4 separate regions of the Homo sapiens genome follow, and all the other regions are linked to region 1. Evidence: promoter capture Hi-C in 16 types of primary human blood cells and fetal thymus (Javierre and others, 2016). All regions are on one chromosome and are shown on one strand. Each heading gives the region's core, a stretch centred on a gene start or on the middle of the fragment in contact. The rest is flanking DNA. Distances are from core to core; before and after follow the strand shown. Region 1 holds the start of SEMA3D (semaphorin 3D). Region 2 overlaps LINC00972 (long intergenic non-protein coding RNA 972). Region 3 overlaps LINC00972 (long intergenic non-protein coding RNA 972). Region 4 overlaps LINC00972 (long intergenic non-protein coding RNA 972).

What was found. Contacts are between HindIII fragments. The CHiCAGO score rates a contact against its expected background, and 5 or more counts as called.
Region 2: a fragment that was not itself captured here is called in contact with the fragment with the promoter of SEMA3D in region 1 in 2 of 17 cell types (naive B cells and total B cells); the score reaches 10.3 in naive B cells.
Region 3: a fragment that was not itself captured here is called in contact with the fragment with the promoter of SEMA3D in region 1 in 3 of 17 cell types (total B cells, naive B cells and megakaryocytes); the score reaches 14.3 in total B cells.
Region 4: a contact is called between a fragment that was not itself captured here and the fragment with the promoter of SEMA3D in region 1, in 3 of 17 cell types (total B cells, naive B cells and megakaryocytes). The highest score is 33.8, in total B cells.

The regions. Positions count from the first base shown.
Region 1 is chr7:85,183,447-85,189,599 of GRCh38, forward strand. SEMA3D (semaphorin 3D) reads right to left here and starts at 3,610. Exons shown (of 19, transcript NM_001384900.1): 1 at 3,232-3,610. RefSeq lists a silencer at 3,422-3,481. The HindIII fragment of the contact is 2,551 bases long and covers 2,061-4,611 here.
Region 2 is chr7:85,488,096-85,494,248 of GRCh38, forward strand. It overlaps LINC00972 (long intergenic non-protein coding RNA 972), which reads left to right. Exons shown (of 4, transcript NR_134240.1): 4 at 787-1,243. Among named protein-coding and RNA genes, the nearest start is that of LINC00972, 70 kb to the left of the region's middle. The HindIII fragment of the contact is 879 bases long and covers 2,911-3,789 here.
Region 3 is chr7:85,470,723-85,476,875 of GRCh38, forward strand. LINC00972 (long intergenic non-protein coding RNA 972) reads left to right here. Exons shown (of 4, transcript NR_134240.1): 3 at 4,530-4,638. Among named protein-coding and RNA genes, the nearest start is that of LINC00972, 53 kb to the left of the region's middle. The HindIII fragment of the contact is 6,248 bases long and covers 717-6,153 here.
Region 4 is chr7:85,453,716-85,459,868 of GRCh38, forward strand. The region is part of intron 2 of LINC00972 (long intergenic non-protein coding RNA 972); the gene reads left to right. Among named protein-coding and RNA genes, the nearest start is that of LINC00972, 36 kb to the left of the region's middle. The HindIII fragment of the contact is 4,061 bases long and covers 1,349-5,409 here.

The DNA.
Region 1 (6,153 bases), core at 2,360-4,859:
CTGTTAGCCTGTCGGAAACAGTAGAAGATATGCTTCCTCTGCCTTTCTAGTTGTTCATATTCCTGACCTTCCCTGCCACCAAAAATAATTCCCATTCCCACGCTTACTAGTCTTCCCCACACATAAAAGAGAGATTACAAATTCAGTTTTTCTTTGTGTATTTTTCCTCTGCAAAATATAAAGCAAATCATTAGTAAAGACTTACCTATGAAGGCAATTCTGGTGAAAGGCAAAAGAAAGCCACAGCAATTACTTTTCTATCTTTTATCGTTAGTTTCTGCTAGTGTTGATGATAGTTTCCCGATAATTCCAAAACATTTTACATTGCCAGATACTTTTTCTTAACCTCCCATCTCAGAACATCAACAGGAAAGTAACCAGAGTGAACTACAAAAGTGAACCAATGGTACTGAAATACGAAGTAAATTTTTAGGTATTCAGGTCATGAGGACAATAAGTAGACTGAGGAAAACCTAACTAATCTCAGGAAATGTTCTTAATACAACCATGGGATTTCTGTTTGATAAATTCTTTTTCTTTTTTTTTTCCTTTACGGACATTGTTAAAGAAACTAATAATTCCTACAAAGGAAAATGAAACCTGTAGGTATGAATAGATCATTAATATCACATACATACGATTCTGGGCTTATCGATTTGATGTGGTTCATTCTCATTCTCAACCATGAATTGCATTTAAAATTTTGAGTGTTCTCCACATGTAAATGATAACAGATACAGATACAGCATCATAACTGACCTTAGAAAGCCCTCCCATTAAGTGGGGTCATGACAACTTTCTTGAAGTTTCTGAAAGGAGACCCACACCCAGGTAAAACAGTTCGTATCTCAGTTCGTGCCCTTACTAGCTTATATTTGGGCACATCAAGCAACATTTTTGCATCTCATTTATTATCATCTCTAAAATAATAACTACCTAGCTTATTCCCCCAGCAATACAATTTTTTTTTAAGAATTACGGTTCTTCATTAAGAACATAAAAGCCAAAATGGGACAATACCCATTTATAAATCTTTATGTCTTTGTTTTTTTTTTCTTTTCTGTTCAAAAAGAAAAGAATAAGAGAATAATGACACTTGTATCATATTGTTGAGGATATTAATTGTGATAAAGTTCACAGCACCTGAAACACAATAGGTGTTTGATAAATGTTTCTTCCCTTCTCTAGGAACTTTCCATTTCACAATTGGGCAAATTCCATTGGAAATTTTGGCAATTCGAATCAGTACTGTTTTACTGTCTGTCAGCCCTTGACCCTACTCTTATCTCGTCCCACATCACCTTCCTGTATTTCCTGGCCTTTCCCTTCCAAGAGCCAAGGTCATTGCCCATCTCCCTGACCAGGGCCATCACTTTGCGCCTGTCAGCGATGGCACCCCTGACCCGTCTTATCCGCTGGGGCGAGTCTCAGAGACTCTAAGACCCGACTGGGTTAAAGCAGTGGCCAGCTGGGGCTGATCACTCCCAACCCCGATCTTCTTGCTCATCCTCCTTGCTGTCTGGCCTCGGAGAAGGAAAAGGAGAAGGGAGGGCATCATTGGAGTGATGACATGTGTGTCTTCTTGCTCATCCTCCTTGCTATCTGGCCTCAGAGAAGAAGGAAAAGGAGAAGGAAAAGGAGAAGGAAAAGGAGAACAAAAAGGAGAAGGCAAGGCATCACTGGAGTGATGACATGTGGCTCTCTCCCTTCTCTGCCCTTCACATTTTTCTTTCCACGTGCAGAACTGGGAAGGCTCTGACCACCCCTGCCCCCGCGGTTGCCATGGTTACACAATAGCAGCAGCACCAGACCCAGGAGATGTCTCAGACCTCTCCTCTACCTCCGCCTCAACCCTTCCCTCTCTGTTAGGAGATCCTCCCCCTCGTCTCTGCGCGCCCCCACCCCGCCATCCCCCGCTAGCGCACACATGCAGGAGAACCCTTTTTAGGCTAAACCGGAAAGTTTAGGTCTTCTCCCCTCTTCTTTTGCTTGTGCAAATAGCACTAAGCTAAACGGAAAGTGGTGGGGTTTTGGTGATGAAATAAGAGTCCACGCACAGAAGCTTGCCTTTTATTACCGCTTCGCTCGAGGCGAAATCGCTGAAAGTTCGGCTATTTAACTCCTGTCCCCATAACTCGGAATCCCGGACACCAGCGGCCCCAGCTGCTGGCGCGCGGCTCTCTTCCAGTCCCCTGGATCCCAAAGCTCCCTGCCACAGCGCGGCGTCTCCTCCTCCTGTCAACTTCCCTCCTTGCACTGTGACGGAGGCAAAGCAACTCAGCCCAGGAGGTTGAACTCGAGTCATCAGAGAAGGAGAAACAGTGCCGAAAACGGCCCGTGCGCTACCAGGGTAGCCCATTAACGCATTAACTCCAGGCTCGTTGGGCAGAAGCCGGGAGGAAACACCCTGGGGACCGCACTCCTGGTTAAATGCCCAGCACGAGTCAAATCCGGCCTTTCCAAAGCGAGCCAAGCCCACTACTACAAAGAGATCCCCCGAGTGTTTTGCCTTAACCACATTTCAGACAGCCAGCTTTGTGGCTGCTGTTTGACTCCAACTTTCCCTCTAAATCTAAAAGGATGCACACTTCCATCAGACGGAACGTCGCGATTCCCCGGCGAAGAAAAAGGCGTCGCCCATTCCTCTTCCAAAACGCTACAACAAAAACCACCACGCTTCCCTTCCTTCTTCCTTGCCCCTTTCCCTTCTCCCAGACCAACAAGGAAAGGAGCGAGCGAGGGCGCAGATGCCCTTTGGTCAAGTACTCCCCGGATGTTCCCGACTAAAGCGTCTCCAAATGAACCTGCAGCCTGCGGAAGCCGGGGACACATTCATAGACGCTCTCTGCTGCCCAGACCAGGAGGGGTGGTGGGGGAACCAGGAAGCCAGGGAGAGAGCAAAGTTCCTGGACGCGTCTCAGGAGGAAAACTTTGTGCAGTGCTGCCAGGCGGAGGCTCGTCAGAAGGCTCCGCAGCTGCTGAGGCGGGGTGGGACTGCGCCCCAGGGGCCGCGCTGAAGCTGGCGCCGCGATTACTGCGCACCGATTTCGCCCACTCTCTGTCCGCTCCCGGGAGCCTTCTCTGTCTCAGGACGGTTCCTTATCTCCCAAACCATGCTCGTCCTCCACTTCGGACCCACAGCCACCCCCAAATCCCGGCTATCCCCGCTTAGCACCGCGGTCTCCAGCACACCCTCCCACTGGAGTAGCAGGTGACCCAAACCAGACTTACCTGCTGTGAACTCTTCTCTCCCTCTCTCTTTTCCTGGTGCCTTTTCAGGGAGAGGGGAACGGGATGCAGGCTGAGGTCCAGCGGCGCGGCAACCCGGGGCACCGGCGCGCGTTCCTCTGAGCCGCAGCCCTGGCTGAGCAAGCGGAGCCGCCGGCAGCCCTGGCAGAGCCGGGAAGCTGCGGCCGCAGGGGCCAGGCCGGGAGGCAGGGGGCGCTGCTGCCTCCCCCGAGAGCCGCGCTAGGACAGGCGGAGAGCAAGGCACCAGCTGGAGCTTTGGGGAGGAGAGGGTGGCGAGGAAAGGCACGCTCCAAACAGGAGGGCGGCTTTTAAGTTTGTGGTGTGACCGCAGCAGCTGTCCTGGGAGAGACTCAGTCTTTCTAAAAAGAGGATGCTGAAAACGCCGGGGATTACCTTTCCCCTTCCGATCTCCTCCCCCAGCCCTCGCCCCCTCCTTCCACTGCGCACGCCAGAACTCCCAAGCGTGCAGAAGTTCATCCCTGCTGCGCGGAGGCTGCCAGCAGCGTGGATTTAGAGGTAGCCCTGGCCAAGCGCTGACGGATGTTTATCAGGACAGGGCACCCTATGTGTAAAGCAACCTCTAACGTCTGATCTTCCTTCTGGGTGACTTGGGGACTTCTTTAGTTCCTTCTCTATACCATAAAACCTGTTAAGGGACCCCATGAGGAAGAAACAGGGAGAGTGACCACAAACACCGTCCTAAAAATGCTAATCCCACAAAACAGTACCTGCGTTCCACTATGTAAAACCTCAATCCACGGTTAATGGCCTTGACAAGGCAGGCATAGGGATGAGGAACAGGGATCAACCCTCCGTTAAGGGGCTGGCACCCGATTAAGACCAAACAGGGAGAGATAAAAACGAGTAGAATGTAATCCTTTCTTCCTCTTTCCCTTACGCCAGACCTACAAAGAGGTGTGCCTCATATCCTTGTCTTCGGGAGTTTTTTAGATTTTTGCACCCCTTATTCACACAGTAGGAACTTAGAAGTATATAATGACGAGAAGATCTAAGTTTTGATGAACCTGGATCCTATGCAATTGGAATAGAGGATCCTCTTTAAGCAAAAGTAATGCAGAAATATCTCACTTCTACAGATTCTGCAAAAATATATGACAATGAGAGTTCATGAGGCCACCGTCAGGGACATTAAAAAGGCCTGTGCATTTGGTGAGCCCTGTACGTTAGGCATTTTTAGCTGCATGGTAAATCCTTTGTGATGGGATATCCAGGTTTATAGTCACACACCTTGCCCTTAGTCCCAAACATAAATCTGACATGAGGTAGAGACATGGAAAGCAAGCAGCCACGGGATCCTGCATTTGTCAGCTTGATTTAAGAGCACAAGGTGTAGGGTCCCAAAGCTTCCTTAGCAAGTAACAAGAGATATCTTGATTTGGAGATGGTGAACAGACAAATGCAGTAATGGAATAACTGAAAGGGGTGGAAGACATTCTTCATTTGACCTTTTATCTGTGGCAGAGGGCTGAGGGCCACAGAAGCTAAAGGAGTCATTTTAAGTTATAAATGGTTGATGGCAGAGTCAGGCTAAGGAAAGGCTCAGGTTTCTCAAATCTGACCAAGGCTCTTTCTTGTGTCTCATGCTGCCCCATCTCTATAACCTTGGTTTGGACTCACAACCAATCAACCCCATAAATACCCTCTTTGGATAGAGAAAAAAATTTTAAATCCTCGTAGACTATTTCAAACTATAGCAACTTTTATTTTTTTTCTGAATGCTTTATATTTAATGTTATACCACTCATTCTGTACATAGTCATGCAATTGTTTATTGTATGTTTCTATGTGTTTATATTATTTTCATTTGTATATGTCATTGCACTTCCATGCAAATTGCAATGTCATTGTGCAAATAAAATATCTCTTTTTTTCTCCCGTATATGGTGGGTTTATAGTAAGTAGTTTTTGATTTTTAGAAAATCTCTATTTTTAAACTTTTAAATAATTTTGTCAGTTTATTGGCCAGAATTTTGTGTTTAACTAGAATTGTGGTTAACTTTGGATTTCCCATTTTCCTCCTTTCTCTTTTAAGTTGTAGCTTAATATGCTTAAACCAAATGACACCTTCCTTTGCTACCATTCAATACTTTCCATAAAGCCCTTACAGAATTAATCACTCCCTCCTGTTTTCCCAAAGCACTTTGATTTCACTACTATAATAAGCTCTTTTCACTTTATATTATAATTAGTTATGCATGTGTCTGCATCCCATACAAAAGTGTTGGCTGTTTTGTGTCTTTGTTTCTTCAGCCTCTAATACAATGCCTGTGACATTGTATTGTACTGATTTAGTTTGAGATGCTCAGACTTCAAATTTAGACAGAATTTACCAGAGTATCCTGAACATATCATGAGAAAACAACATCTGGAACGTGAATTCTGTGCTTTCCTTCCTTTTAATGACTCTGAGCACAAAGCAGATGGAATCAACTGTTAATATGTTGCCCAATGTGATGAATGGCCTCAGCTGTGTCCATGGCTCCGTAATCTTCAGGCTGCTTCCCTGAATGTCTTGAATGTGTTAGGTGCTTAACAAATATTTGTGTGTTAAACGAGTTAATAAAAACAGTAGAAATAATGTTAATATTCAGTCACTGGATTTATTTCTGAATTTCTAATAACTGTATAGGGTCCCACCAAGATAGTTTTAACAACCCTTTCTAAGAGTTTGAGATCTACTTTCATCAAAAGCAATTTGGTATTCTGTCCTATAGGGCTAATACCCTATCTAAATTCTTAAAATAAAACCCAGTGGGAAAAAAAGTATATTTTACAAAAAGTTTTGCTAAAATACAAGGTGTATTGTGCAGTTTAGTTTGTCTTCAAGGGTGACTATTCAAGATTTAACGAGTGAGCCTTAATTTCACTGAAAGCGATGTGTAT
Region 2 (6,153 bases), core at 2,100-4,599, 300 kb after region 1:
GGCAATTTCGGGTCTTATGTTTAAGTCATGAATTCTTTTTTTTTAACTTTTGCATATGGAGTGAAATGAGGTTCTAATTTCATTCTTCTGCAAGTGGATATCTTGTTTTCCAACACCATTTATTGAAGAGACTATTTTTTTTCCTGTTTGTGTTCTTGGCAAATTTGTTGAAGATTAATTAACTGTAAATGTGAAGATTTACTCTTAGGCTTTCTGTTTTGTTTCATTTGTCTCTATTTCTGTTATTAGTGTTAGTACCATCTGTTTTGATTACCATGGTTTTGCAGTAAATTTTGAGATAAGGAAGTGTGATGCCAGTACTTTTGCTCTGTTTTGCTCAAGGTTGCTTTGTCTCTTTGGCATCTTTTTTGGATTTTACAAATTTTAGATTTTTTTTTCTATTTCTGTAAAAATTGTTACTGTAATTTTGATAAGGATCGCATTGATCTGCATATTTCTTTGGGCAGTATCAGCATTTTAATAATATTAATTATTTCAATCCATGAACATGGGATATCTTTCCATTTATATGTGTTGTCTTCAATTTCTTTCATACATGCTTTATAGTTTTCAGTGTATAGATCTTTCACCTTCTTGGTTATATTTATTCCTAAGTGTCTTTTTAAAATGTCATTATAAATGAGACTCTTTTCTTTATTTTTTTAATTGAATAATGTATAGAAACACTAATGATTTTTGTATGTTGATTATGTATCCTGCTACTTTATTTAATTTGTTTATTAGTTCTAACAGTTTTTCATTTAAATGGTATTTATTATCTTTCAGTTTCCAGGTGCTGTGCTCAGTCCAGGAATACAATGATGAATACGATCAAGGCCCTTTCAGAGCTGACACACACTATACATAATGCATCAAAAATTGCGTTCTCGCTATATTTCTGTTTATTTGGTTTTATCTGCAAGAATATAGATAGCATCTGCTTTGATATAAAACTTTTATGTGTCTTATGTAGTTGATTTGTAAATGTCCTATCTATAAATATAAAACAATAAATTACTAGTTACAGTTAACTTAGGAAAACTTTTAATCATGTCCTACATTTTACACCTTGTAATTTCTACCAAATGTTTGTATTTTTATGTCTTATTAAATATAATAAATATTTGTCTTAACATATTTTAATAGAATTCCTCATATGTTTTGCAGAAAGCTAATTATGGTTTTCCATGTGATTTTTCTTTCATATATACAGTATTATTTAAAATAAATTTGTATAAAATAAGCCAAGTGTTTTTTATTGTAATGTGTATATTACATTAAGAAATACTATACATTCTCTAATGCCATTTTATATGCAATCTTCTAAGCACTAAGTTTATATTTACCAGGAAAAGGTTCAATTTGGTGACTTAGGTCATGGCTTTTTTATTCTTTATTTAGAGTTGACAGTAGTGTAGGCGTATGTCTGGGCCATTCGCCCAACTATACCAATGGTTCCCTTTCATTTTCTTTCCCTGATTCAGCATCAAGCATGAGTTACATATGGTCACCAATCTTCCAGACAAAAAATAGCTAAAGAATAGTAAATTTTTCCACTACATTAGTCATCTGGGACTCCTCTCTGTGGTCAGTACCTGCATGGAAAAAGGATTAAAAAAGCATTTTCACTGATAACAGTCCTTCAAATATATTATTTTTTCAAAGATCATCAAACCACAAAGATAGTTCCAGTCAGACATCCAGATGTTTACTCTGAGTCACAGAGTAGCTATCAAACACTGTGGTAAGGGATTCCCTAAGTAGGTAACCGAGTTTTCTGTAGACAGCAAAGGCTCTTAGACATGGATTTGAGTAATCAAGTTTTATTTAGTTTGCTGACTTTCAAGTTTCATTCCATGGCTTTTTTGACTACTCTGTATAAAATTTGGAGCTATGTTTTATAATAAATACAATGCAGAATAGAGCAGAGTTCCCACAATGAGGTAGTTCATAGATGCATCAGATGTGCTTAAGAAACTATAAAAATAGCTAAACACCTAGACACATTATAATTAGCACTGTCAAATATCATTGGAACAATTTAGAGGATAAGGGTATCACATCTGTTTGGAAATATCAAGAAGTCTTCACAAAATTGATTCTACACTTTATGAGACTGAAGGATTTCAACACACAGAAAGAGGGTGACATTTTAGGGAGAAGCAAAGTTATGAGCTTGTATTAGACTTTTGTGACCATAGGAAATTATTGGGATTAAATCGTGAAAACTATGCAGAGCTTTAATTTTGGATGCTGACTTGGGCAATTTTTATTAAATTTGGTAGCTTTTTTTTTAGTATAATTACATTTTCTAAGTGTGATCTAGAAAATTTAATCTGAAGTCTTGAGTAGAATGAAATAACATAGGGCAAGAATAAAGAAATGAAACCAATGAGGAGATAACGACACCAATGAAGAGATAAGAGAACAATGAGGATGCCATACAAAGTACAAAAAAAAAAAAAAAGAGAGAGACAGAAAAGAAAGGAAAGGAGAAATGTATTGACAAAGTAGAAATTATACTGCCTAACTAGCTAAGAAATACATTTGACAAACTATGCTAAACATTTCTGTTATTTTGAATTGGGACTTGTATATTGCAGACATTTTTATTAGATTGAGAGGTAGGTTAGTAGACTTGGCTTTCACCCTATTAAATTTGTAGTTCCATGAATTCTTCTGGGCAGTTTATCTAGTAGACAATTAAAATTAGAGAACTGAAAGTCCAGAGAAATCTAGACATAATTCAACTGGTGGTAATTGTGAAATTTGTTAATTATTGAAATCAAAGTCTTATATTTTATTGACAATGTTATAGGGTATTCCATGTGTAGTATGATTAGCTTTATGCTACAATCGTTTTCAGCAAATTTATCTCAATTTTGCTTTATGCGTTGGCTGTAATTGACAAGCTTGGGTGTGCAATGACTGGGACAGATGGTCTCATTATCCATACCCATTTATCTTTTCTTTCTTAATTTCATTCATTACTCAAATAACAGTAAATGATTACTATGTGCTCAACAGTATGTAAATTACAGTGCTGTATAAAATTGAGAGATACACAGGTTTTTTTTTCCCTCAAGATACTAAGGTTGGTTGAGGAGTAGGATATCATTGCTAATTGAAGTATGGTTTTAGAATCATGAATTCAAAAATTCCATTACATTAACTGATTTGTCATACAAGGCTCAATTAGAAATCAGGAATAATTAAATATGTTTACCTAAAAATATCTGAGTGTCATTTGACAAATACATAAAGAAAGAGTGATTCAGCAATCTGTATTCATGACAAGTAAGAATCAGATTTTGGCAATACTTGCCCTTCTTTGAAAAGTTGTCTTTTGCAGTTTGCCTTAGAAAACAATTTGGAGAATATTGCTTGTTGTTCATAATATGATTGAAGTTTCATACTATTACAGCTAATATTTTTGATTCATGAACTTCACTTACTCCTCTCCAAATTTGTTTTAATAAGCCACATCTAGATTTTTAAAATTTGGAATGTGAAGGCAGACTTCTATGCCACCAATTATTTTCCTAACCATTTTCCCTTTTCCTTTCCTTTCTTTTTTCTTTTCTCTTTTAAAAATTTTTCTTCTCCTTTTTCCTTTTCTGAATAAATCAGAGACCAAGATTCTGTGTTTGCATATATCAGCACGTATGGCCCTAAAATACATGTAATGTTTCATTTAATTCAAAACAGTCTTGGTGGATAACAATAATTGGGTGAACTATACAGATAGGCTCCTCCTTGGTTCTTCACCAAATAAGCCTAGTTCTCACAAGCTTTGCTCTCTATAATCCTGGCACCTGAACAACATTAGAAACATTGCAATCCATCTAAAATAAGGAAGGTTTTCTAATAGTTTTAGAACTACAAAACTATAGCTACTTTCAAATTACCTTTTAAGTTTTGAAAACTTTAATTTCAGAATTTTATCTTGACTTATACCATGTATACTTGAATATATTACCCGTTATTGTTAACATTTAATTTCCTTTTTGTTATAGTTAAGGAAAAAATACATATTAATAAGAATAGCAATATCTATACAATAGTTTTTTGGGTGTGCCATCTATGCCTGGAAAAATATTAGATTAGACATAAAACACAGGTAGTTTTATGAAAAATTTAGTTTTCATTTTCTATTTGGTCACCTTTACTTTTCTGAATTACCTATAAAAATGGGCACATGAGCAAAACATTGATGTCTTATAGAGGACAGTACTAACAACATTAAAAAAGAAAAAAATTACCCCCAGCGATTTATGCTACTTTTAAGATAGGTTTATTCAGGAGGTTAGGGCTTACCAGTACCTCTCTACCTCCACTATGAACTTCACTAAGAAGATTGTGTGGGAATTATCACTAAATTGGTGGTGTTTTCATTAGTTATGGCATCTAACCAAAGACATCTGAGGGGCCATATCACAAATTTGAAACAGCAGAGAAAACTTGCCTTTTGTTTTCCTTGTGGAGTAATTAACTGAAGGTGCAGAGTATCATTTCTCTGTAAATTACTTGGGATATATTTTTAAATTAACCATCTCCAAACATTTTATGTATAAATAGCATTTTATAATTCCATGCTGTAATTACTTCCTCATGCTAAAATCAAAGTTGGTAAAAATATATCAGCCTCTTTTATTGGACTTATTTTTTATACTCTTCCCAGTTTACCCATTGGGGATACACTCTCCAAAGTTTTTTTTTCCATAAAACAAAACAAACAAACAAACAAACAAAACCTTTAGATGTTTGGGTTTCCATATTTAGCCAAAGAAAACATTGGATGTAGACATCCAATGTTTCTTTATTAAATTTTTAATTCTTTATTAAACTCCTGTCTTTTATTTGAATTTTCTTTTTACCATTTCTTGTTTAAATCTATACAAGACCATGGTCCTCTAAAAGCCATCAATTTTACTTTAAACCAAAATTTTAATTTACATATTTTTTCAGAATTCTAAATTGAGCCCCAATGATTACTCTTACAGTACAATAGCGGTGTTAATATAAGAGTCTCAAAACTTATACAGGAAAATAGTAACAGGTTTTGATAGAAATTTCAAATGTTTACCTACAAAACCATATATAATGAGATTAACATATGGCTGAAACACAACACTCATATCTTATTAAAATGATAACTCCATGGAAGTGGAATATTTTATATCCTTATTTTAAAAGCTAGCTGTGTTAGTTTGGCTGGGCTGCCATAACAAAGTACCACAGACTGGATGACATAAACAACAGGAATTTATTTCATACAATTCTGAAAGGCAAAATGTCCGAGATCAAGGTGTCAGCCAGGTTAATTTCTTCCGAGGCCTGTCTTGTTGGTTTGCAGATGGTCATCTTCTCTGCGTATGTTCATATGGGCTTTCTTCTGTGTGTGTCTGTATCCAAATTTCCTCCTCATGTAAGGACACAACATATACTAGATTATGGCCCATTTTAATGATTCCATTTAAACTTAATTACCTCTTTAATTACCCTATCTCCAAGTACAGTCACATTCTGAGGCACTCTGGGTTAAGGCTTCAACATGTAAATTTTGGGAAGAAATAATTCACCATAATATAAGCTGTTAAATTTAAAATGCTGTATTTAAAACACTATCTACATGCTCTATTTTAGAAGTAAGCACAGGTTAAGAGTTGAAAAATTGTTAATTATATATAAAGCCAGAATTAGTAATTCTTCCAGAAGCAAAACTTATTTTCTTCTTTGAATAATATCCTTAGTATTTTGACTGGAAAATGTTCATTAACTAGAATTTTAAGCACCTAATATCTAAATTCATTGGTAGATTTTACTGCCAATTCATTTGTGGTAACTTTGTTACTTTGTCTTGGAGAAGACAAAGATCAATAAGATACTGGTTCTGTCCTTAAAATATCCACTCAAGATTCAAGGGGGAAGGCATATTATTCCAAGAAAGAAATGGCTATTTTTCCTGAACAAATTATCATGGACATAATATAAACAATTTTCTACTGTTCTTTATTTTTTTCATTATAATTTCGCTAGCACTGTCAAATTTAGGTAATGCCTTCATTATATAGAAATTAAATACTTATTACTTTTAAATGTTAATACATTTTGTTGCAATTCAGTTCTGGAACAATGAAATGCTTAACAGGA
Region 3 (6,153 bases), core at 2,591-5,090, 290 kb after region 1:
CTTGCCCTCCGTGTCCATCCCCACACTGCCTCTAAAGGGCAAAAGCCCAGATAAGCAATTTAACAATTTACATTAACACATAATACTTAGTATCTGATTTCAGGTTAAGGTGATTTCATAATTGCTATTGCTGTTGTTTTTGCCCATTTATATAATTTTTCCCAGAACAAAGAATTCTATGACACAACTGGGGATTATACATTACAGCTTTAGGAAAAACCTAATTACCTAAAAATTTTAAATGACTCCCATATATGCACATGCTACATTACATGGATTTGTAGGGTATCCTCACAAAATTTTCCATTAGGTAAAAATGCATTTCCTGAAATATTTATCATACCTGTATTTATGCAATGTTAGTTTTCTCATTTATATTAGGTCTGTATAGTGCTAAAACCTAGTAATTGCTTAACAAATACTTGCTGAGTAAATCACGGAATGTATGGTACTGGAGACTTGAGGTTCAATAGAAATAATCAATAAATAAATCTTTGAATATAAAGGAGATGTCTGAGGGAGATGTGTAGAGTTTAAGGGAAATAAGTCAAAGAAGAAAAATAAACTGAAAAGGGAAGAGGAAGAGTAAAAGAATGGCAATAGCTGCAAACATCAAGAGGGATGTTTCATTCATATTGTTTAATTTTTCTCTTAGTCACATTTTAAATGAGTACTCATTACCTCATAGCTAGAGAGGCTACCATATTGGAGAGTGAAGCTTATAAAAATTTTCCATCTATTGCATAAAGTTCTATGAGGCAGCACTGCTGGAGAAAGTATTAGAGTAAAAAAAGAGGTAAGAAGTAAAAACTTGAAGAAAAGAGGCAATAAATAAAACTGCAACATCTGTAACAGTGACATCTGTTGGTTAAAAATGAATCAGGAGACTTTCAAAAATATTTATACTTTTGATTTTATATTCTATTAACATAGTTGGTTTGATTTCTCATGGACCCTTACATTAGTATTTCCAATTAAAACCACACTCTTTAAAATTGTGTTTGCTGCATATAAAATAATCATTGTTGTAGCAAATTTTTCAAAAACTAAAGCCAAGGCAGTTTAAAGATGTGTGATGGAAAAGAGAGGGGGAGTTAAGTCAAGAAGCAACAATTAAGGAAGTGTCTTAAACACCAACTCTATTTTGGTTTTCTTGAGCATTTCCACTCTTTCCACTTGTGTTAGTCACCATCCCGCAGTTTCCTTTCATGTCACTGAAAGTGAGTTAACTCAGAAAATAAAGAGGCATCTGTCTCCATGCTTTCACTATTCTATAAACAACTTACATTGCTCGCTACTGCGGCATAGAAGTTTAGTCAGACTCATTTGTTTTTCAAGTACCTTCCACTGTCTTCTCAGAATAAACACTATTGGAAAAAATTTACTATAGTAATCTTATGTGAGTTGTTTCCCTCTCTCTGAACTCAAAACATTCTTTCAGTATGTGAGAATGGCAAACTCAATTATTTTATGCTCAACAGAATTTTATTGAATCCCCTGACAGTTCAGATAAACTACTAAATGAATGTTTATTATAAGCATGCAGACAAATGATACATTATAGGGAGGAAACTACTCGAAGCAGTTATTCTACCTGTAAACAAAGTTTGCCTCGGAAGATTTTATTTTATTCCTAGAAAAATGCCATGGATTAGATTGAAAACTGGAGGATATGTCATTGTAATTTTGTTTGTCTGACTCTGCATCTTGTGTAACCAGGAATGTCTATTCTCATAGATTTTGAATTTAGACCAAGTGAAAACTTGACAACAGACTGTGTCTGCTTTTCCCAAACATCATTAACTTTTGAAAAACCCAAACCATCAGATGTGGTGAAGACAGGAGATGAGGGAGACTGATAGATAGATAGATAGATGATAGATGATAGATAGATAGATAGATAGTTAGAGAGCAGACATAGATGATAGATGATAGATAGATAGATAGATAGATAGATAGCAGATATAGATAAGTAATTTTAGTGTCAATTCTAAAGTCTCCTATGAATATTTGCACCACTCTTTAACAGATTTTAAGGTTTATTTTGTCATCATTGTGAAACCAAAGAATAGGTAGAACTTGCTTATGTTTTCAACAATGCTTTTAACACAAAGTATAAAAGCAACATATATTGTATATATGTTCTATCAACATATATGTTCTATCAACATATATTGTATATAATACCCTTAACTACTTTGCCATTAGTTATCTTTTCATTATTAGGATTCTAATCAATAGAATAATTGAAGCATATATGTTAAAAATCTGTTAAGTTAAAAATCTTAGTTTATAATATTTTAAGGAATAGTATATCTGAGTAGAAATCCATAGTCATAGAATCACAAGGAATGAGAATAACAATGGAACTTATGTTAGATTAGTCTTGGGACATCATCAGATGATTCCAGGCATGACCTCAATTGCTCTCCATAATATTATATGTATCATGCATATATGAGATAGTAAATATGGAAGTGTGCTTCTAAACAATTTCCTGATAGTGAATGCTTCAAAACTTATCTGTGACTCTATTTAATAAGTCTGATAAAATTGTAACTAAAAGAAGGACAAATAAGATGCAAAAAAGAGGAAGAAGAAGGAAAATAAGAGAGAGAAGGACAAAGATACAGAGAGAGGGAGGGCGCAAACCACCACCACCATTATCACCACCACTATCACAACAACAACTGGGATAGCAATGTTTTAATAGGGTAGTATTATTATCATTATTATTGCTTAATCTTTATTTCCATTAGCACTCTAAGTGCGGCGTATGTAAAAAATAAAATGTGCAGCTTCCTAAGGAAATAGATTTGAGAAAGCCAACTCGCAAATCTAGTGCTTCATTATATCAGCTGCATAAATTGTTTCCTAATTGGACACTTACTCATCTTTTAAACATACTAGCAGGTATAAAATGTTCAGGTGGAAAACCAGTTTAGGTTAATATATCATGTTATCTATTAGCACTGTAGCTGATTACTAAGTAATGCAAATGTTTAAATTACCAAAAAAACTATATCCTAATAAAATTGGAAATTTTTAATAATGACATTTTGTTTAACATTAATTCTCTAGAAAATGCACAAAACAATGTATATTTTCTGGCATCATGGAGCATTTAGACTAACATTTTCCTTCATATTGATGTCAAAGAGAAAGAATCAAAGTGACTTATGTCACCAAAAGAAACAGGAAAGAAATATTCTTTTAAACACCTACTCACAGCTGTTACCAAAAATCGTAGTAGATTTACTATCACATCAAATAAAAAAAATCAAAATGCTGTTTGTCTTTATTATTTCCTCTCCTCTGGGAAAGTAAGTGACCCATGCTAGTTGGTGAATGTTTTTCCTTTCTAGTGCAGGTGACAAGAGTAGGTTTTGGCATTTGTTTTGCATTACTGTCATTCTAAAAAGAAACTAGAAAATATATAACATTTGTATATATTAATTTCAGAAGCCAAATTACATAATATTTGTAATGAAAATTAAATGCAACAAATTCAAAGTCATAAAGAATTAGATATACTTTTATGTTAAGATGGCTTTTCTGTTAGGCTCATCTTTCAAAATTACAGCATTGAAAAATACATTTATCTGGTTTCGATCTGAATACCTACATTCTCACATGTGCATCTTCATACGAGTCAGACAGTGCCCACAAATATGCTCCTTTAGTAGTCTGAGCAGTTTTGCTGGCCTGTACCAAAATAGAAAGAAAATTATTAAGTAGAAATCCCCCAAGGGGAATCAAGTTGAGGTAATTTAAATGACAATCTTGTTTAACTTTGCATTTTTCTATAGGAAGTCATCTCCTGATCTTGTCAGAAAGAATTTTTTTCCTTTGCAACTCAATAACCCCCACATATGCCATTGTTATAGTAGTCATTTCATTTTCAGTTTATTTTCCTTATTTCTCTCTATTACACCTAGAACATAGAATTTTTATTAGTACTCAATCACACATTACACGTAGAACATTGTTTAGTACTCAATAACAGATAAATTAATGAACAAAAATTATTATTTAAATTCTATTAGGTTTCACATATAGCAATTCTACAAAAGAGTGCAAGGGAATAATTAAGACACAGAGCCAATAGTTTATCAGCACAGAATTTCGTTCCTTTAAATTAGGTGCTTAATATTAATTTGTCAAGTGGATTTATATCTAAAATATGCAAAAATTAAATGATAATATTATAGATTATGGTCTGTAAAATAGTAAGAAAGCATCTTGCACATGTTACAAAAACAGTAAATATCCACTGTTTTGAGTTGACTTACTTAGAAAAAGCCTCAGTTAATTCCAGTTAAGTTAAAAGTTCTGTTTAGGAAAGATTTCCCCCCAACCCCGGCTAATAAGCATTAATGACAGCTTAATCCTATCACATCTTTTCATGAGAATACCATGTTTTGGCAATGACCTCAATTATAATGCTAGTTTATTCTTTTCTGAAAGATATACCATGAAACTTCTAACTACTCCACTCCCACAACAGGATGTTCTGCTCTGATTGGCAGGGAGAGTTTGAAGGTGGGTTGGCAGAGACTGTGACCGCAACTGACTGCGTTCTGCAGAATTATGGTAATGAAATTGGAAGCCAACTTTCGTGAAGCAGAAAGCCTCAAGGTAATTGCCATGTACTATAACTTTTCCTTCCATTCGGAAAACAGAAATAAACAGCACATTTTCCCCATGAATCTACTGTATTTACCAGTATTGTTTGTGGGGTATACTTTGCCAGTTGACATTACTTTAGTAAACTTATTATTATACGGTGAACACCTGCCCCATAAATATAGAATAGAAAAGCTATATTATATTTGTGTTTGGTGAAATGAAGTGTTACCCAAACTCAGATGTGGTGAAGACCTTTTGTGTTCTCTATATTTATGGAAGCTACATGCCACTTAACATATACCAAATTTGGTAAGCAAACAACCTTGACTCAAAGTTCAACTTTACATGATCTTTGTGACCGGAGATTGGGTCATTCAGTTTCTAATGTATAGTTTCAACTAAGTTAGAATTCTAAGTATGTTTTAAATTTTAAAAATAAAATGTTAAGTTTCTTATTGAATAGCTAAATATTGAATTGAAAGACTACTTCCACACTTGATTGATGGAGTTTTCTCTTATTAGTATAGAAACCCATCAGAAGTTTATTTAGATTAGGTATTACTTAGGAAGATAGCATTAGAAAGTACAACCTTATCTTTTCCTATAGCAACAGGATGTAATGGTAAGAAAGAACAGAAGCCAGAGAGATCTGGACTTGTATTTCTGCTACTTTCTGTGTTCTTAGATAACTCACTTCAACTCTCTGAATCCTAATTCCTTGTTTAAACATGCAACTCTATTCTGTAAGTCTGTTTTTTAAGTACTTAGAAATAACATATATAAAGACCAAAAACAATCTCTGGTATAGAAAATTTTAAAAAAAAATGTTGTACTGAATGCTGTTAATACTACTACTCTTGTACTTTTAGTAAAATATCTTATAACTTAATTATTCTAATATTATACTTTCCATTTGTCTTATTGTGAAGACAGAAATAAAGTTATAATTGCACCCCTCAACAACAAAGACATTGTTGAATGTCTACTATGTCCAATTGTAGTTGGATAACAGGACTGTAGGAAATGTAAAACCAACACAACGCCCCAACCACTTTCCTCAAGTCAGTTGGTATTGCCACTGAAAAGGAATTTGCTGTGAAACCCCTGGAAGAAGGTATAGCACTAGAACTGAGGGTCAAATACTTTGAATTAATTATCAAGAATTTCTTGATTTTTCAAATAAAAACTGTGACCTATGAAAGTAAAGTGAACTGAGAAACAGTTATTGATTTATATATAATATATAATATATTATATATATATATATATATATATATTCCAGATAAATGTAATCTTGGTATTGCTAGTTTCACCTTTACTGCCAAGTTACAAAACAAAACAAACCAATCTAGTACGCCCATAAATAGAGTCTGGCCATAATTCTCTGCTCTCCTCAGACTGGAGAAAATAATGTTACCAGATAAAAATATAGTGAATGACTATCTTAACAAGGAAACTGAGGAACTTGTTTCTCCAGTTAAATTCAGTGTGAATTTCCTTACTATTTATTTCATTTAGAAGCAG
Region 4 (6,153 bases), core at 2,129-4,628, 270 kb after region 1:
CAGAAGAATGGGTTAATTGCTTTACAGTCTCTAAGATTGTTTTATAAAATTGTTAGGTCACATCAATAAGATCTGCCAAATTAAATACTTGACTTTTATCTGATATTCTAGATCTGGTAAGAAAAAACATATATATGTATATGTCTAACATTCTATAAGCAACTCAAGTCAATGTTTTATGAGTTATAAATATTATACATATATCCCTTTAAGTAATAGTTCATAAAATACATTTAGCTTTAGCTTTCTACTCAACATATATTTATAAACTTTAACATTACTGAAATATCTTGGATCTCAATATACAGGTAGTCTATAATTCCCACAGAGTTTAAATTAAAGCTACTTTTAAAGAGTTAATAAAGTTTCTTATTTAGTTTTTAAATGAAGGAAATAAAAGTTGAGCTTGTAATATTAAGACTGACTCTTCATGGGAACTGAATGAATTGTTCAGAAGCATTCAGAAAAATATCATGTTGCCATATTTTTTTCTAGTATAAAAGGTGGATACTCTATTCACTCTGAGTATTTCCTAAAATTTCATGGATTCTGTGTTTTGATCCCAACATAAATATTTTGGAAGTCAAATATTAGAAAAACGTTGCAGAAGATTCTTGAATCCCACCTTTATATCCCTCTCCCTCTGTAGCTGAAGTAGAAGTTTTCAGCCTTGTCCTAACAAAACTTCACTGCAAATACCTGCATCACTTTGTTTCCCCATCTTAGTCTTTCTTCAGCTCTGCAACCAAAAATGCACTAAACTTAATATACCCAGGGTAAATCCTTAACAGATGAAAAACTAGGTGGATAAACCCCCAGCCTTCCTATTGTTCAGTGGGACAGTTTGAAGGTATGGTCCACACAATAGCTTAGAGGCGATCCAATAGAGTGGAGCATCAATTATCTGTAGCAGTAACCCTCTCATTAATGTACCATTTATTGGCTTTTCTCCTTTTCCCATCTCACTTATCTCATCTGTCCCTCATTCATATCTCCTAAGATCACCTCCCAAACAAATTATATGTTTGTTTGTCTTTGTCTCGTATTGGCTTTTGGAGAAAAATGAACTAAAATAGTTTGACCTCCAGTTTCTATAAAGAGATACTTAAACCTTTCCAATACCAATAAACAAAAATTCAGTGAACCTCTTGAAGTAAAACTCACAAAACAATGTTCTGATGAATTAATCTACATGATTCAAAAACTTGTGTGTTCCATTGCCCTGACTGCACAGAGAATCTACACATCAAAAAGAAACCAAAGTTATCCTCAATTGTCCCTAATTTTTGGTTTTGCTGATGCATGAAACTTAGATGTTGCTATGTTGTTCAGTATTTGGCCAGCAAAAAGCTTGGCTAATTCTCTTATCATTAACCACAACCTACATCATCATTGTTGCCAAGAATGTGAAGATAAACTCCTCAATGTAATACATGCCAAAAAATATTGTGTCCTTTGTGTCTAATTGAACATTTTTTCCATTTTTTAAAAGTGAGCACTTTTTTCAATTACATTTGTTTTTAAAAAGACTGTATTTTTAACTGGATGAACTGCTTACTAATTCTTTCTTCTTTTTCTGTTTTTCCTGTGGAGTACTCCCTATTTACTTTTCTTACCTAAGGTGAACAACATAATGTTTATACATATATACACACCATATATATTAAAACATATACAGTTTTATATGTGGTTTTATGTATATATACATACACACACACACACACACACAAACACATAGTTAAATGGTTAGTTTAAACACATGAACAAGGTAAGGCTATTATTCTTTGGTTGGTAAGTAACTAAATGAAAATGCTTTACTACTAAGTATTTTTATTAAATACTAGTACCACTAAATTAGAAAATTCTCAGGCCCTAGATTTAGGAATTTATTTAGCTGTAGTGCAAACATGTAGAATATAATTCATAGGGAAACAGTTTTTCCAGTTAAGAATCTTGAGGACTACATTAGCAAAAAAATACTTAAATTTGATTTTTGAGACTAATAAAATAAATGTAATTAATAATAATGCAAAAACATAACTACAATTGTTAAAATATATTAGTTTGATATTTTGTCTAGTTAATTTAACAAAAGAAAATGAGAGGGAGCAGAGAAAAGGAAAGAACATAAATTGTCAGAAAGTTGGTCTACTTTGTAAAATTCTTAATTGACTTAGATGTAACTAACTTAATAATATGTTACTTGAAAATATAAATAGTGAAATTTGTTATAATTTTAATTGTTATCTCATGGCCAAATGAGATGTAAACTGTAGAAAACCTCTGTTTTTCTAAGTTGTAATGAGGAAAACTTATCTTTCTGTCTACCTGTAACTTTTCAGAGCCAAAATATCTCTGAAAAAAATTTGTCTCTTTGAAACACTTTTCCTTTTCTGATAAGCAATAATTATATAGTTTTTCAAGTGACAACTCATTCTTAAGAGCCATAAATGACATTGAGAGAGTTATAAAAGATTTTAATTTTATATATTGACAAGTATAATCCAAATTTCCTATTTCACCAGATAAAAGTAAATTTTCATAATTACATAAAAATATGTACTAGTATGTCTTGAAGTTGATTATTCTATTAGTGTTTTTTTTTCCTGCTTTTGTATGGATAGAATCAACCTTTTGTAGGCTGTTACTTTTGCCCTATCTTTATATTTCCTGGGTACCAATCTCCTTACCTGCAAAGAAAGAGATTTGAAAATGTGGTCTCTAGTGTCCTCTCCTGACATAGCCTATAGATTCTAAATCCTATCCACAATTCCCAATTCAAGACCACATGGCCATTTTCAGTTCCCCCACCCATGTTATCGAGATAGGCTGACTTCTCTTTGCCAAGTTTGTTCATGGGACCAATGTGGTATATCCAAAGTGTATCTAATCTTGAAAAAATGATGACATCCTTGAGGATAGACTATGTATTATACTTTCCTATCCTCATCACAGAATAGGTGTTTAATAAATACCTATACTATCATCACAAAATCACTTATATCTTGTATGATATTGTACTAAAAAGAAAAGAAAGTGACTGTCACTTGATTAAGTTTCTTATCTTTTGGGGGGCACAAACTCTGCTTTTTACAACTTTTACTCAGGAAACTGATTTAACACAGAGAGAACCATTAAGTATCACTATTTTTGTTGTATCACTTCCCCCTGCATATCCTGATTTAGAAGTATTCTTTAATTACCAAAGAAATAATGCATCACTGAATCAGGAAATGTTTAATTATGGTCTGGTAGGAGCTTTGCTCACACATAGGTAAACCGTGTAACTTCTGGAGTCATTGAAAAATAATATTTCTTAATATCTGACAAGTCGTCAGCTATGCACTTAAGACAAGCCTCAAAAACACTTGTTTGACTATAGGTGGATAGGTGGACATTGGGTCAGAGTCAGACATGTGTTTGAAATATAGCTTTGCCATTTATTGAGTAAACTTAGAGAAGTTGATTAACTCTTCTGAGCTTCAGTTTCTCTGTTACAGTAAAATAGAGAATGGTAGTAACTATCTTACATTTTTGTTGAAAAGATTCCTTAGGATGACATATATAAACCACTTAGCATTCCTTGGCCTAAAGAAAGAAGTTTAATAAGTAATTTTCTTACTATTTAAATTATTGTGTGGAAACTATTATAGAGTGTATTTTTGTTTATCTTTAAAAACAGTTTGCTTTGGTTTGTCAGATTAATTTGTGAGAACATGAATAGCACAGTTGTGTAAGAAGTTTAGAACCTGTTTAGCTTAAGATCATGGAATCATCGAATATTAGAGCAGTGGAACACTGAGACATGAAACGTTTCATTTCACTTCCATCATTCACAACACATAATACATATACATCATACAGACGAAGAAAAGGAGACCCTGGAAATTGGAATATATTTTCTTTGTTTGCACATATAGAAAACTTGGGGGCTAGTCCTAATTCTCTCTTTTTCTAGCCAGCATTGCTTTATCCACACAATTCAGTCCTCTCAGATAATGAGAGATCAACATGAAGAAAATTGGAAGAAAGTAACAAAACATGACATAGATTTGGAATGTATGTGTTATCTAGTAACAAAATAATGCTATAAGACAACCATAATGCTCAGTAACACACAATAATAAACATTATTCAAATCTATAGGTGGGTTACTTATGCCGGACTTAGCTGGCCTGATTTTCTGATCTGACTGGGCACCCTCAGGCATCTGTGGTCTGTTTCTGAGGAAAGACGGCTATTGGCTGAGGCACTCAGCACTTCTCATAGTCTATTATCTTCAAGGTAGCTTGGGCTTGGGCTCACAGAATGGTAGGAATCCAAGAGAGAGAGAGAGCAGAGGCATTCACATTTCTTGAGGCTTAGGCTTATCCCTGCTACCGTATCACCTCTGCCAAAGTCTACTAATCAAATACATCATGAAACCAATCCAGAACTAAGTGGTGGGGAAAGTGGGGAAACAGACTCCACTTCATGATGGGAAAAACGTCAAAGTGCTGTTGCTAAGATGTAAACACGAATAGGGGTGAAGACTTGGGGCCAATTTTTTAAGCCTTCAAAGGAGATTGCACAATTTTGTAATAAAATTAACCTTTCCATCCTCTGTCTTAATAATATTTCTCCAAAATATTTGATATGTTGGTGTCTAGTTGCTGTCTAATTGACATTATAAGAAAACTTCAACATTTAATATGAAAAAAATGCCAAAATAAAATATTTTAAATGTTAATAAACTCAGTTGGATTGCAAAATGTAAATATCAACGTTATCTCTTCTTTAACCATAAGCAGCCTTCCATACCCTTAGTCAGAGTGCATGTGGGCTGCTCTTTATCATGAATTAAAACCAGCTTTGAAATCTCTTTGTCACTTTCTGAAATCAAGATTAGAATTAAGCGTTAATGCTACCAAATATATCAATCATCTTAACACAACCATTTAGGCACTCATACAGAAGACTTATCATCCTATTACAATACAATATATCAGAAAATCTTGAAAATTATTGTTGTGATATATATGCATTTATGCATTTTCATTTTATTTATATTTTAACATAGATAAGAGTAAAAATAATTACTAAAATAATCAGTTTATTTTATTATTTTTAATGGCAAATCAAGTAGATTTTAGGTGAAAAGATTTAGAGTTGAAGTCATCTATCTTATGTATAAGGTAGAAATATTTGCCCGTTTTCTAAATCATTATTGTTAGTTAACAAGAAGCTAATTTGAAAGGCTGTTTATAAAACAATTTATAGTTACTGTTTGAAATATTAGTAATATTTTTGAAGGATATTAGTAAGTTATTGGAACTGATTAAGAAGATAAATCTCTGAAATTAATTTTCTATCATAAACACAAACATTTTTTAAAAATTGAGCTTATCTTAATAGAATAATATTAAAATAAGCTTATTCCCTACTTCAACACTTAATACTCTTGTGTTAAAATAAATTACTTTCATAACAAATATATTATGAACAATGCATATGATTTTTCTATTCCACTGGAAATAAAGCTAAACTTTAAAGTAAGATGATTGTTCTATAAATTTCAAGACAATTGTAAGTAAAAATGTGCTAATTTCATCTTAATGGTGGTACCTTAAACTCAAGCCAAATCATGATTATAAGAAATCAGACTAGGACAGAATGAAATATAAGTCCCTGAGCTTTAATAAAGAGTAATTATTTTAACTGAGGGTTTTTTCAGGACTTGATGCTTTTTTACATCACTGACATTATGGGAGACATTATCAAAATTATTAACAAGTATTTTTGAAGATGTTAATATTTGAAGAATTATAAATGCAAGACTATAGTTACAAATGCTGTAATCAAACTTTTCTCTTATACATTTATGAAAAATAACATTATAAATATAAAGATTTTCTGTTTTTCATCTTTCATCGACGATGTATGGCTTTCAAATTCTTCTGTTAGCATAGGAGGAATAATGTTTCAAAATGTATTTTTTTGAGCATATATATTGGCAATATAATGTGCTAGTTGAACTTCTAACACTTGGCTGATATTAAGTCTTGGTTAATGTGCTTTTTCTCTGGTATTTCTAAAAGTGCTGTACTGCAATATTTTTCATTTGTTGATTTACCTGGTTAGACAGAATAGGTGTCTAATTTAGAAAAGGTAGCT